Linked DNA regions of Homo sapiens: region 1 is linked to region 2. Evidence: promoter capture Hi-C in 16 types of primary human blood cells and fetal thymus (Javierre and others, 2016). All regions are on one chromosome and are shown on one strand. Each heading gives the region's core, a stretch centred on a gene start or on the middle of the fragment in contact. The rest is flanking DNA. Distances are from core to core; before and after follow the strand shown. Region 1 overlaps VAV3 (vav guanine nucleotide exchange factor 3). Region 2 holds the start of HENMT1 (HEN methyltransferase 1).

What was found. Contacts are between HindIII fragments. The CHiCAGO score rates a contact against its expected background, and 5 or more counts as called.
Region 1: a fragment that was not itself captured here is called in contact with the fragment with the promoter of HENMT1 in region 2 in 1 of 17 cell types (fetal thymus); the score reaches 6.0 in fetal thymus.

The regions. Positions count from the first base shown.
Region 1 is chr1:107,776,240-107,782,715 of GRCh38, forward strand. It overlaps VAV3 (vav guanine nucleotide exchange factor 3), which reads right to left. Exons shown (of 27, transcript NM_006113.5): 3 at 3,195-3,253; 4 at 992-1,057. Among named protein-coding and RNA genes, the nearest start is that of MIR7852, 120 kb to the right of the region's middle. The HindIII fragment of the contact is 1,056 bases long and covers 848-1,903 here.
Region 2 is chr1:108,659,152-108,665,809 of GRCh38, forward strand. HENMT1 (HEN methyltransferase 1) reads right to left here and starts at 1,942. Exons shown (of 8, transcript NM_001102592.2): 1 at 1,812-1,942; 2 at 713-811. The coding sequence starts at 733. LOC105378890 (a long non-coding RNA gene) reads left to right here and starts at 5,116. Exons shown (of 2, transcript XR_947679.3): 1 at 5,116-5,818; 2 at 6,599-6,658. RefSeq lists enhancers at 1,661-2,250, 2,251-2,839 and a silencer at 1,906-2,075. The HindIII fragment of the contact is 2,630 bases long and covers 377-3,006 here.

The DNA of each region.
Region 1 (6,476 bases), core at 126-2,625, 880 kb before region 2:
TACCTACTATATGCCAGACACTGTGAAGTTCTAGGAATACAGCCATGAACAAGGCAAAGTCCCACACCTCACAAAAGTGTACCTTCTAATGAGGAGACAAACAATAAATGAAGCAAACCAAGACTGTCTCAGGCATTGGCAAATGCTGTAAAAACACAGCAATGTAAGGGGGTGGTGGCAATTTTAGACAGGATAGTCAGAGAAGGCCTCTCTGTAGGGAAATCTAAGCAAAAACTTGAACGCTGAGGGATCAGTCAAACAGGCAGAAAGAATAGCAGGTGTAAAGGTCACAAGGCTAAAACAAGCCCAGTGTGTTGGGTGTATGAGGAAGGATAGATGAATGAATGGATGAAGTTCCATAGCATTTGAATCTGTCTTGGGGCATAATCTATTTCTTATTATGATTCTTTGCAAACATGCCTGATCCATGTCATCAGTTCCTTGAGGAGTAACGATCACGCATATATTTATTTGTAATCTGTACAAGTCACTCAATCAGCAGAAGATAATCGGCTGCAAGGACCTTTTGCCTCTCTTGACTATTAAATAATAGAGCCCAAAAAGATTCTCTGTTCAGAACAAACACCGCCTACTAAAACATCCCGAATAGCTCCAACCCACACTTATCTCTCCCTTCCTTGAACTTATAAGGCATGCACTATGTGTCCCACAACTCCAGCAGCAGATTCTATTTCTTTTAAATTGTTCCCTAACTCCAGTTTTATCTACTACTTCTGTTATGCCTTTGAGAAACTTTGAAATTTTACTTCATTAGAGTAAGTTTCTTTATTCTTCATGGGGACACAAAACAGGAACTAAAAACCAGTTGAAGTACATTTTCTTGTAAAGCTTTCCATCGCCAGTTTAAGGTTAATCAGTAATTAAGCCACTTTTCCTCCTTCAGATAGCTTACTTTAACATCCACAGTTAAAACCCACAATGGACACATAAATTGGCAGTGGCTAAATTTTGCTTGAAATTTTCAACATACTCTATTAAATCAGGAAGGCCTTTGTAGATGTCTTCATCATTAATGCTTTCTTCTGTTGGGAAGGGCCTAGGAAGAGGAGAAAAAACAAAAACAAAAAAACAAACCCATGAGTGAACGAGCAACAATCAGGCTGCGCACTTAACCCTCACTAAATATGTAAGTTGTCTGCTGCCAAAATGGTCAGATCAGTCACCATGTCTAACAATATCTAGGGCTTTCCCTAAAGTGCCTGCTCAGTGGCTTTGTCTGGGGTTCCCCTAGGGAGGCTGTAACACCTGCCACCTGAAATCATCTGAAGCAATTACAGCTGGTCACCACAGTCACATGTGCAGGGGGTCATAATAACGTGCTTATCTGATCTCCCACCTGCCACATACCTGCAGGGTCACCTCACCCACTGCAGCACCCCAAGTCAGACAACAAACAGCTGTGCATGTACCCTTGCCTTCAGCACCCTCTCTTTTCAGCTGTGGGATCTGATAACAAATAATTTGGTAGCAATCATCCTTCCATGGCTCCGTTCACTAGTGTAGATGAAAACTAGTAGAAGACAAAAACATTGTGCCCTTTACATATACGGTCATTGACCCTGACATTTCTGCTCAGACTTTAGGGTATTTAAGCTGTATGTTTTATTTTCGTTTATTAGACAAATGAGTCAACCAGACCTTGGGGTGAATAGAGTGTTTTCTTTGTTCCCTATTCAAGAAAATCACCTTTAATGTATCTCCTATTCCCACTGTGTGGCTTCCTTGTTTGCATCATGGTACTATGTCCTTTTTTCATAACTGCCTTAAATTTATGTCTAACAAAATCACAGTAAGCATACTGTGCCAAAAATTCTACTCTTTTCAGGCAGCCAGCATATCACATGTTTCATAAAAACCAGAGGATCCATCAAAATAATAAATAAGCTTTAAATAATTACTAGTTATATTAAAAGCAGAGTTTCACATTGACTTATGGATTAATTTAATACTGAAGACATTTGAGGAGACTAGGTTTTTCAAATAAATCAGTGTGTGAGAAATGTAGTCTCATAATCATTTTTTATAAATTAAGGCACATTTTATTATGCAAGTTCATTGTAGAAAATATAGATGAGAAAAAAAGGAGAAAAATTTTGACTTACGTTTTTTCAGAATCAATACATAAAAATTTGATCATGCTTTAAAAAAATCTTTACATATAATAACATAAAATATATATTGACATGAAAGGTATGCATGTATTGAAGAGCAAATTAGGAGTTAAACATTTATCCAGCCGACAGACCATATACATAGAAAGCTGCCAAATTCATGGCCCATTTCTGAGAAAGGTCCTGTACCAGCAGGGCATTTTTCCTGAGCTCACTGTGCTTTGTAGCCAGTGCAGAGAACCCCACTAAGTCCTGCTTGGATCCTCTCTCCCTTAGAATGTGAATGTGAGCTGGACACAGAAAAATGGCTGTGATGGCCAGAGACAGAAATATGGAGCACTGAATAAAGAAGGTAAAAAACAAATTTGATCCATTTCCATGAAACCAGGCTGAGTAGAGACTGTTTTGCTTTATTTCCTAATGTTACTTATATAATACATCTTTGCTGACTGATCTAACTTAAGTATGTAGTATCTGAAACAGAAAAGGCTCAACACAACATACACATCTATATTTTTATGCTTATCAACTGCATAATACTCTATTGCAAGGAGATGACATACTATATTTAACCAATTTACTTCCAGGTTTTTAATTTACTACTGAACCTTCAATACACATTCTTGTACACATGTTTTATACTTGTTTGATTATTTCTTAAACTCCTAAAAGCTATGAGTTATTATGATCTACTCTATAGGAAATAAACATATTACAACATCTTATAAATATTTATTTACTTAAGCATTTGTGTTTACTTTAATGAATCATATGTACAGAAATGTTGGAGGAAAGTTAAAAAAAAAAAAAAAGAAGAACCACACCAGTGACAGTCACCTGTGAATTGAGAACAATGTTTAGCCAATGTGTTATTCAACTCTATCAATAAGTTCTACCTTGCTCAATTAATTTCAAACGTGTACGGGATACTTACATACCAGGCACTCTTCATGAATGAGACATAGTACCTGTGTGCAAGATGCTTCACAAATAGTAACCATTTAATAAAGAATCATTACACTGAACTCAATGGGACACATGAACAACGAAAACAGAGCTTACCTGATTCCTGTGGCCAATGCTATAGGTGTTCGAGAAAGTCGTGATAATGTTTCTATAACCTGAGAAAAGAGGAAAATACTAATTAGATATGTAGTTCAGAAAATATAAGATTTCTTTTTCCAAAATTTTTTCAATCTAATATTAACCATAGCAGCAGAAACATAAATTTGCAGGTGTCAAAGATGTGCAGAATGAGAAGGGCTGTGATTGGGAAGTATAAACACCTGGATTATAATTTTATAATTATTACTTAAAGTAATAAATTACTTTATTACTTTAAGTAGATTACTAACCCATTTGAGTTGCAGATTCTATATCAGTATAACACAAAGTTAGCCTGGGTGGCCCCAAGCAACTTGTATCTCTACTTTTACAGAATCTGAAAGATTCTGGAAAGCTGTATTCTCCAGTATAGTACCCACTAGCCACATGAGGCTATTTAAATTAATTTAAATTTTAAAAACAAAAATCCCAGTTCTGCAGTTGCACTAGCCACATTTTAAGTGTTCAGTAGCCACACACATGTGGCCACTGTAATGAACTACACAGTTATCAAAAAATTTCCATCATCACAGAAAGTTCTATTGGACAGTCCTGCTATATAGCAAAGCAGGTGAGACTGTGGGCGGGCTCTTGGGCCAGACCACCTGAGTCTAAATCCTCAGCTTACCATTTATTGGCCAAGTACTTTTGGGCAAAATACTTAACTTCTCTGAGCTTTTGTTTCATCTTCTAGATAATGCCTATAATAATAGTTAGATTATTAACAATCATTACATTATCGTGAGGATTAAATAAGCTAGCACGTAAACTATTTAAATAGTAGCTATTCTGTATAATCACCAACTTTAAGGAAATTGCCTTAATTTAATTCTGAGTGTTTTCAGAAAAAGTTTTCTAAATTAACCTTAATTATGTTTCAAAGATTCCTTATAAAGATCTTCAGTACTTAAATCTAAATGTTAAATATACTCTGCTAGCAACTTTACCCTTCCTTCAATCTTTTGTCCTAAGATTGTCTCTTTCGAAGACTTAGTGAGAAAGCCATTTATCTAAAATGTATTTTTCTCATAAAGTCTATTCTTGTTTGTTTCTTTTTTGAGACAGAGTCTCACTCTGTTGTGCAGGCTGGAGTACAGTGGTGCGATCTTGGCTCACTACAACCTCTGCCTCCCAGGTTCAAGTGATTGTCATGCCTCAGCCTCTCAAGTAGCTGGGATTACAGGCACACACCACCATGCCTGGCTAATGTTTGTATTTTTAGTAGAGATGCAGTTTCGCTATGTCGGCCAGGCTGGTCTCGGACTCCTGGCCTCAAGTGACCCACCTGCCTTGGCCTCCCAAAGTGCTGGGATTACAGGTGTGAACCACTGTGCCCGGCCATAAAGTTTATTTTTATGATAATAGATATAATGCATCCTAACTCTCAAAATTTTAACAAACACAACTTAAAGAGGTTCTACATGAGGCTTATTCAGAATGATAGTAAAAAGCGAGAAAAGGCAAAAATCTGTTTCTAAATTAAGGTAATCTAATTCCTTACTTCAGAGACAGGAACATAAAAATGAAGTCTCTCCAGTACTCTGTAGAAGGTTCATGAGAGTACCAGCCACACATACACTTATATCTCACCCACTTCAGGAACTGGTACCATATATATATATGGTTGTAGTTAGAAACTCCTGGCTTTGGAGTAAGAATACCTGGAGCCCTGACTCACAAGTTTTCAGCTATGCTCACCTTTACTAGCCTCTGTAAAATGCAGATAATAGCTAACTGCTTCATGGAGTTACTAAAAGAATTAAATGAGATCATGCCTATCATATGCTTAACTCAGTAAATGTGAATTTTTATTATCATGTAAAATAAAGTTATTATACAAAGATAACATTTAATTGAATTACATATAGATGACGACAATGTATTACATTCTTGAAAACTGCAAAAAGGTTACATTTTAAGCGTTCTCACCACAATAAAATAAAAAAGATGTGATGCAATACATATGTTAATTAGCTCCAGTTAACCATTCCACAATGTATACATATTTCAAACCAACATGTTGCACAGATCAATACATATAATTTTTATTTGTTAATTTTTAAAAAATTAAGAAAATTTGTTACATAAACAAAAGAGAAGGGAGCAAAACTCTTTAGGATAGTTCTAAAGGGTTAGAAAGAAGCAAAGGACATGGTGACTAGATGAGCTAATTTACTGACCCCAAAATTGTATATTCTAACCGTAGCCCCCTGCTGTGAGACTAGAAAAAGAAAAGAAAATACAATTGAAACCCTTCATGCAATTTCTTCCTGGTCAACTATGTCGAACATCTAATGTCAAAACATATACAACCAATCAGATAAAACTTGATATTGATTAATTCCCCATAATAAAGATAAAACATTGTCAGTGAGTTTGTAAACTCAGAAGATCAAGAATGAACAAATACTAATAAATTTATCAAAAATAACTAATTCAAAATAAAAATAGTCACTTGCTAAAATACCAAAATTATTCACTATTAAGCGAAAAGTCTAACTTTGGGGAGGTTCTGGAATAATCAGTACAGTATCCAGACCCTTGAATTAACTACATTGCTTTACTTTAGCATGCATCTTATCCTAATATATCACTGTTAGAAAGCTATGGGGTGAAATCTGCCTCTGATTCTACTTTACACTGTGGTCCCAGCATATATCACTACTTAATAACAAGAAAAATAGCAATAGCAGTACTACGGTTATGTCTTTTATTATTGCTATTCTATTATGTATTTTATATAGCAATGCATTTTACTCCTTGAGGATATTTTCTATAATAACTATGATGTATCTACAAAATCAGAATGCATTTTCTATTCCTTTTCCCCCACCAAAAACCAGAAAAATGACAACCCCTCCCCTACACACCGCCTCTTTCAGAAAACTATAGCTTGATTTTTTTCATGAGTGTCCACCAGAGGGAGCCAGATGATAGTCTATTAGTTTAGTCCTGAATTGAATGTGTTTTATAAGGACAAACATTTCTGAAAATCAACAAGCTGAGACCAACTCCTATTTTCTGCTTAACAGGAGTTATTTATTACTATTCACTAACAGAAAAATAACAAATATACAAATGCAGCAAATGAGGAGGAATGGAAAGACAGCATGCAGTGTATCCCAAAGTGAGTGAGAACTGGCACTCAGTTTTGTGTCTATGCTATTGTACACTGAGTCCATCCGTTAACTCTAAGTTTAGCCAAAGCAAATAAAGACTGTTTAGTCAATGCGGTGTTTT
Region 2 (6,658 bases), core at 692-3,191:
TTGTCTGTATTGGATTTAAAAACTTTACATTTAAAATATACATGCACATACCCAAGTTATTCCAAACATACTTTTTTCCAATAATGTAATCAAATATCCAATTTTAAACTTAAAATTAAAAATGAAGTTATGAGCCCAGGTGGTCAGCGTTGCAGTTAACCGTGACTGGGCAAGTGCATTCCAGCCTGGGCAACAGAGCAAGACCCTGTCTTAAAAAAAAAAAAAATTAAAGTTCGGTTCCTCAATTCCACTAGCCACATTTCAAGTGCCCACTTGCCATGTGTAGCTACTGGACAGCAGGGAGCTACACCCTAGGTACTCCCAATGTGGTTTCCAAACCAGTGGCATCTTCACCTAGAAACTTTAGAAACACAAAAGCTTGGGCCTCACCCTAGACCTCCTTAAACAGAATCTGCAACTTAACAAAATCCCCAGGTGATCCATATACACAACCACATTGGGGAACACTACTTAGAGTGTTTTTAAAATAGATTTTGCTACTTTAACACCTAGTGATAAAAGTAAAAACATTTATTTTACTTACATACACCAAATGTGACTCTTTCATCTATGTATACCCTTGTTTACCTCAACCAACACCCCGGGAAATGCTAGGACCTAAATGTGATCAATTTTGTTTGCAATTATCTCACAATACATCCAGGTGATAATTCTTAAGAGTCAAAGACGCAGCTAAGAAGGGTGGCATTACCTGTAGATTATTTTCTTCCATTTTGTTTCGAAGTTTTGTTGAAACAAAAATGAAGATTTATCCTTCAAGCTCTATTTGAGAGAATCAGCACTGACTCAGCTGTAATAAATACAAAACCGTTTTTGTAAAGCGATACCTGAAAGAAATAGCTGCCTAGTTCAGAAGGGAAGAACGAAAGCCTCTTTCTTACTCCTTACTACAGTATATAATTTAAATAGAACGCTTAAAAGTAAATAATGAATTCACCTCTGAGTACTCAAAAAAAAAAAAAAAAACACGAAAGCAGGACTCGAACAGATATTTATACACCGAAGTTCATAGCATTATTCACAATAGCCAATCTGTGGATTAAATGTGGACTACCATTTAATCCACAGAATGTATCCAGTATTTTTTCAGACATTCGCAAACAGGCTCAGAAAGCGTAACTTTTCACTACGTCAAACCCTACTAAGAGCGAAAACAGCCATCCTTTCCCTTTACTATCATGAATAGTTCAACTAGATACAAACGGAGCAATCTTAGGAGTTCTGCCCATTTCATTGCTAAGACCCTCAACTTCAAATTTTTTCAAAAATTTTTCCACACATCGTCAAAATGAAATTTCGAGGGGGAAAAAAAGTGTCCTTGATAAACTAGAGATGCTCCAACATCTATTCAATTCACTCACGAACTTGAATTTAAATTTTAGTTCTCTATTGCACATGTGTCTCCAACAACTAGACTTTAATCTGGAATCTAGGCAACATGTTAGTCACCAACTTGTATTAAGAAACCCTGGCCGGGCGCGGTGGCTCACGCCTGTAATCCCAGCACTTTGGGAGGCCGAGGCGGGCGGATCACGAGGTCAGGAGATCGAGACCATCCCGGCTAAAACGGTGAAACCCCGTCTCTACTAAAAATACAAAAAATTAGCCGGGCGTAGTGGCGGGCGCCTGTAGTCCCAGCTACTTGGGAGGCTGAGGCAGGAGAATGGCATGAACCCGGGAGGCGGAGCTTGCAGTGAGCCGAGATCCCGCCACTGCACTCCAGCCTGGGCGACAGAGCGAGACTCCGTCTCAAAAAAAAAAAAAGAAAAAGAAAAAGAAACCCTGCTCACTGAAACCAACGCTTCTGTCTTTGTACGGGCCGTCGCTTCCATCATCCTGCGGTAAGCAGCATGCCCAACCGAAAAAACAAAGCTCGTCGCGGAGCCGCCAGCGTCCTCAACTCAGCGCCGCCCTGACGCCCGCGCACGCACGGCCTCGCTGCGTGACGCTACCGCCGCGGCTACGCCGGCGCCCGCACCCGCGCCTCGGCCTCCCCGCGGGGCTCGCCAACCTCGTGCGCTCTCACGGTCGGCCTTGGGCCCCGGGAGCCTCATGGTGCGCCGAGCTCCGTCCCTCTAGGCTCTCAGTTCCAAGGCGTCGGTTTTGCGTCTCGTAACGGCCGCTGTGGCGCATGCCCAGAAGCCATTTTCAAGGTCCTCTTCCGAACCTTGGCGAGGACCCCTGCGCCTGCCGCGCCGTTGACCCCGCTAGCGTGCGGCTGCGACGCGGCACGGTACGGCAGCTGTTGGCGAAGGCCCCCAACTCCGAGCGCGTCCGCAGACCGCGAGCCGGAAGGCGGCTTGGGCGGCTGTTGAGTTCGTGGCGCTCCCGAGGCGTGGCAAAGGCCTAAAAACGGTCCTGGCCAGCGGAAGGCGGCAAGAGGAGCAGCAAGGCTCCACGCGAGGCGGCCGGCGGCTGGAGTCCCAGTCAGCCTCCGCTTTCATCCCAGAGCAGTCCACGGGGGCCTTAAAGGAATGTAGGCTGGGTGAAGTTGGCCCAGTGACACCTGCGTTCAGAAAAACGTTCTTTCCGCTCCCAACGCCCCCTCTCCACCGCCACCCGACCCCCGAAATAGTTTTCCCCGAGTGTTGTGGATAGAACTGTTGATCTCTTGGAAAAGTTATTGTATCCTGCCATCCTTCCCTCTGGAGACTCCACTTAATATATATAAGTACTTTCTTTCCTGTATATGATGGAAGAGTATTAGGGGGGTGAGGGGAGGGACGAAGCTGCCTTCTTTAGGGAAAAAAGATTGACTTATATTTTGAAAGATGCAAAAGCTGGTGTTTTTGCTACTGAATTAATAGCCTATTAATATGCCACAAATGATATATTGGAACTGTATTTTCAAACATTTAACGCCTGCTGTATGCAAAGCACTATGCTGACAGCTTAAGGGTACCACAATGATAAATTACACCAATCTTGTTTTTGGCATTTTGGGGAGTCTAGTGTCATAGGTAAAGAAGTACATAACTAACAATAAGCTTCAAAAATTCAATCATAAGGCCCGGCACCGTGGCTTCCGCCTGTAATCCCAGCACTTTGGGGGATCACTTGAGCCCCGGAGTGTGAGACCCCGTCTCTACCAAAAAAAAAAAGAAATTAGCTGGGCATGGTGGTGCCTGCCTGTGGTCCCAACTGTTTGGGAGGCTGAGGCCGGAGGATCACTTGACCCCAGGAATCTGAGCCTGCAGTGAGCTATGATTGCACCACTGCACTCCAGTCTGGGCGACAGAACCAGACCATGTCTAAAAAGAAAAAACACTCAGTGATAATTTCACATTACAGTTTGAGAGGTTCCTGTTGACTTGGGGAAACTAGTTTTAGCAGACTTCATTAAAGGAGTGTACACCTTACTACAGGATGTAATTTAAAATAGAATGTTTAAATAATAAATTCACTTCTGGGTATATACTCAAAGCAGGAATTCAAACAGGTATTTGTACACCAAAGTTCGTAACAGCATTATTCACAGTAGCCAAAATGTGGAAACAACCCAAATGTCCATTAAAGGATGAATAAACAAAATGTGATATACATACAATGGAATATTCAGCCTTTATTTTTCCAATCAGAGTTTCAGGAAAATCAACCTTTAAAAGGAGTGAAATTCTGACATTTGCTGCCACATGGATGAATCTTGATGATGATATGCTGAGTGATATATAATCAGTCACGGAAGGACAAATACTGCATGATTCAATTTATATCAGGTACCTAGAGTAGCCAAATTCATAGAGACAAAGTAGAATGGTGGTTGCTACGGGCTGAGAGGAGGAGGGAATTGAGAGTTGTTTAATGGGTGATGGAAAAGTTTTGTAGATAGGATGGTTGCACTGAATGCCACTGAACTTAAAAATTGTTAAAGTGGTTTTATGTATATTTACCACAGTTTCAAAAATTTTAAGGAAAACATAAAAGCTATCATCTATACAGCATTCCTGGATCTAGGGTTTTTGCCTCCCCTGCTGGTTAGCCCATTTATGAACTTGAGCTCCTCATGTCCATTCCCTCTCCAAATTTGCCTATTTCATCATTCTCCTGGCCTCCTACTCTTATTAGAGTCTGAAAAATCATCCTTGGCTCTGTCCATTTTTGTCCTTCCCACACTTGGACAATCACCAAATTTTGACTTCTTCAAGCTGTCATCTACCATCTGTTCCTTCCCACAGCTAATAGCTTAGCCTTGTCATCTCATTTTGTCATTATAACTCATCTTTCCTTCGTACACAAGGTAAGTCCTACTGAGTTATAGACCATGTAACGTCTTTTAGAGTGGATTTTAAGTCAAATAGGCCTTAAATCCAGATTTTACTATTACTGCATAACCTTTGGAAGTTGCATCCTCTCTGAGTGTTAGGGGGTTTTTTTAAGTTAAAAAATGAGAAATGATTACTTATTTGGTAAATGTGTATAGAGTATTTATTATGGATCAAGTACTTGTTTGAATTTAAAAGACAGATAAAGATCCTTTCATAGCTTTTACAGTCCAGCAGGTGTAGGTGTCTGGCACACAATAGGTAATCAAGAGTTATCCTGGGCTGAGTGAGGTGGCTCATGACTGTAATCCCAGCAGTTTGGGAGGCTGAGGCAGGAGGATGGCTTGAGGCTAGGAGTTCAAAACCAGCCTGGGCAACATAGCGAGACCTGTCTCTACAAAGAAAAAAAACATTATCTGGCCATGCTGGCGGGCACCTGTACTCCTAGGTACTCAGGAGGCTGAGGCAGGAGGATCGCTTGAGCCTGGGAGTTTGAGGCTGCAGTGAGCTGTGATCATGTCACTGCACTCCCTGGGCAACAGAGTGAGACCCTGTCTAACAAAAAATTAATTTCAAAATTTAAAATATTTTTTAATATTTTAAAACGGAGTCTGGTTCTGTCACCCAGGCTGGAGTGCAGTGGCGTGATCTCGGCTCACTGCAACCTCCACTTCCCAGGTTCAAGCGATTCTCCTGCCTCAGCCTCATGAGCAGCTGGGATTACAGTCACGCACCACCATGCCCAGCTAATTTTTGTATTTTTAGTAGAGACAGGGTTTCACTATGTTGGCCAGGCTGGTCTCGAACTCCTGACCGCAAGTGATCTGCCCGCCTCAGCCTCCCAAAGTGCTGGGATTCCAGGCGTGAGCCATCGCGCCTGACAAAATTTTTTAAGTTATTCTGGATGCCAGTTTGAGCCTGATGCTTAACAGGATGGAATATTTGGAGGTCTTGAGAAGAGGGTGATTGTATATTCCATGTAAGAGGAATGTAAATAGTTTGTGTCTAGAAGGAAGATTGTAACAGATTAAGATGTACGAATTCCTTCTCACCTATTGAGAGAAACGGGGTCTATTTCTTTTCCTTTTGAATCTATATGGGTTTTGTGATTTCACCAATGAATAGAATACCTCTGCCAGTTTTTGGGCCTAGGACTTAAGAAACTGGCAGCTTCTACTTCCTGTTTTTTAACGCATCCACTCTTGGAACCCAAATGACAATCTGCGAAGAAGACTAAGGGGCCCCACGGAGAGGCCCACATGGAGAAAACTCAATCCCCCCTCACCCGCTATCCCAGGCTGTCAGCCAGCACCACCTTGTCTTGCCAGCCATGTGAGTGAGCCATGTTGGAAGTGAATCCTCCAGGCCCGGTGAGCCATTTAAACTGACTGAAGACAGCAGCTCTGTCCATGTGCACAGAGAGTGGGAAGTGCCTGAAAATTTACATTTTCCTAGGTAGTGCTTTGCTAATGACTGACCGGTGTGGATGTATAAAAGTCCAGCTCCGTGATCTCAGACTTCCGGCCTCCAGAACTGTAAGAAAATAATTTTTTGTTGTTTAAGCCATCCAGTCTGTGGTATTTTGTTACAGCTACCCAAGCTGACTGATAACACTGAATTATGTACATAACTGAATAACCACCTATGGAGCAATAAGAGCACATTTGGAGCATCTTCTCTACCAAGCAAGAAACAAAAACGTTCTCACCTTATCAATATTCTACAAGTTAACCTCTAACTTCTCAGGGTTGTTAACTGTTTGGACTCTCTTGTTTGTAGGGAGTGACTCAGAGAAAGTTAGAGTCCCCAAGAGAGCCATATGCCTGAGAGACAGGCTTAATTCTCTGGCATGTTACTAAAATGTCAGCCATGTGCAGTGGCTCATGCCTGTAATCCCAGCTCTTTGGGAAGCTGAGGCAGGAGGATTGCTTGAGGCCAGGAGTTTGAGACTAGCCTGGGAACGGCCCTTGTCTCCAAAATTAAAAATAAATTTTTTTTAGAAAATGTTAAATACTGTGAAATAATCTATTTCCAAGTGTTGGATATTTTTTCTGCACAGTAGTGAAATTATTGCTGGCTGTCTCGGTGTAAGAATGGCCATTGAGCTGCCTCATATCCTGATGGGAAGGTGCAGGGCCAGAAGTTGAATCACACTATGAGTGTGTTTTATGGGCCAGCTGTGAACCTATGAAAGTAGCAAAGAAGAAATAAGATTTGAAAAGCATGATTCCAAAAGAGTCTGGAAAATTCTTCCAGTTGTCAGACATGCAAAGTTGTAATTTCATATCCATAATTCTTTATGCTTTTTCTTATAGCAGGCCCTGACATTGTATAAGCTTCAGGCCCCACAAAACCTGGATCTGCCCTGCCAGGAT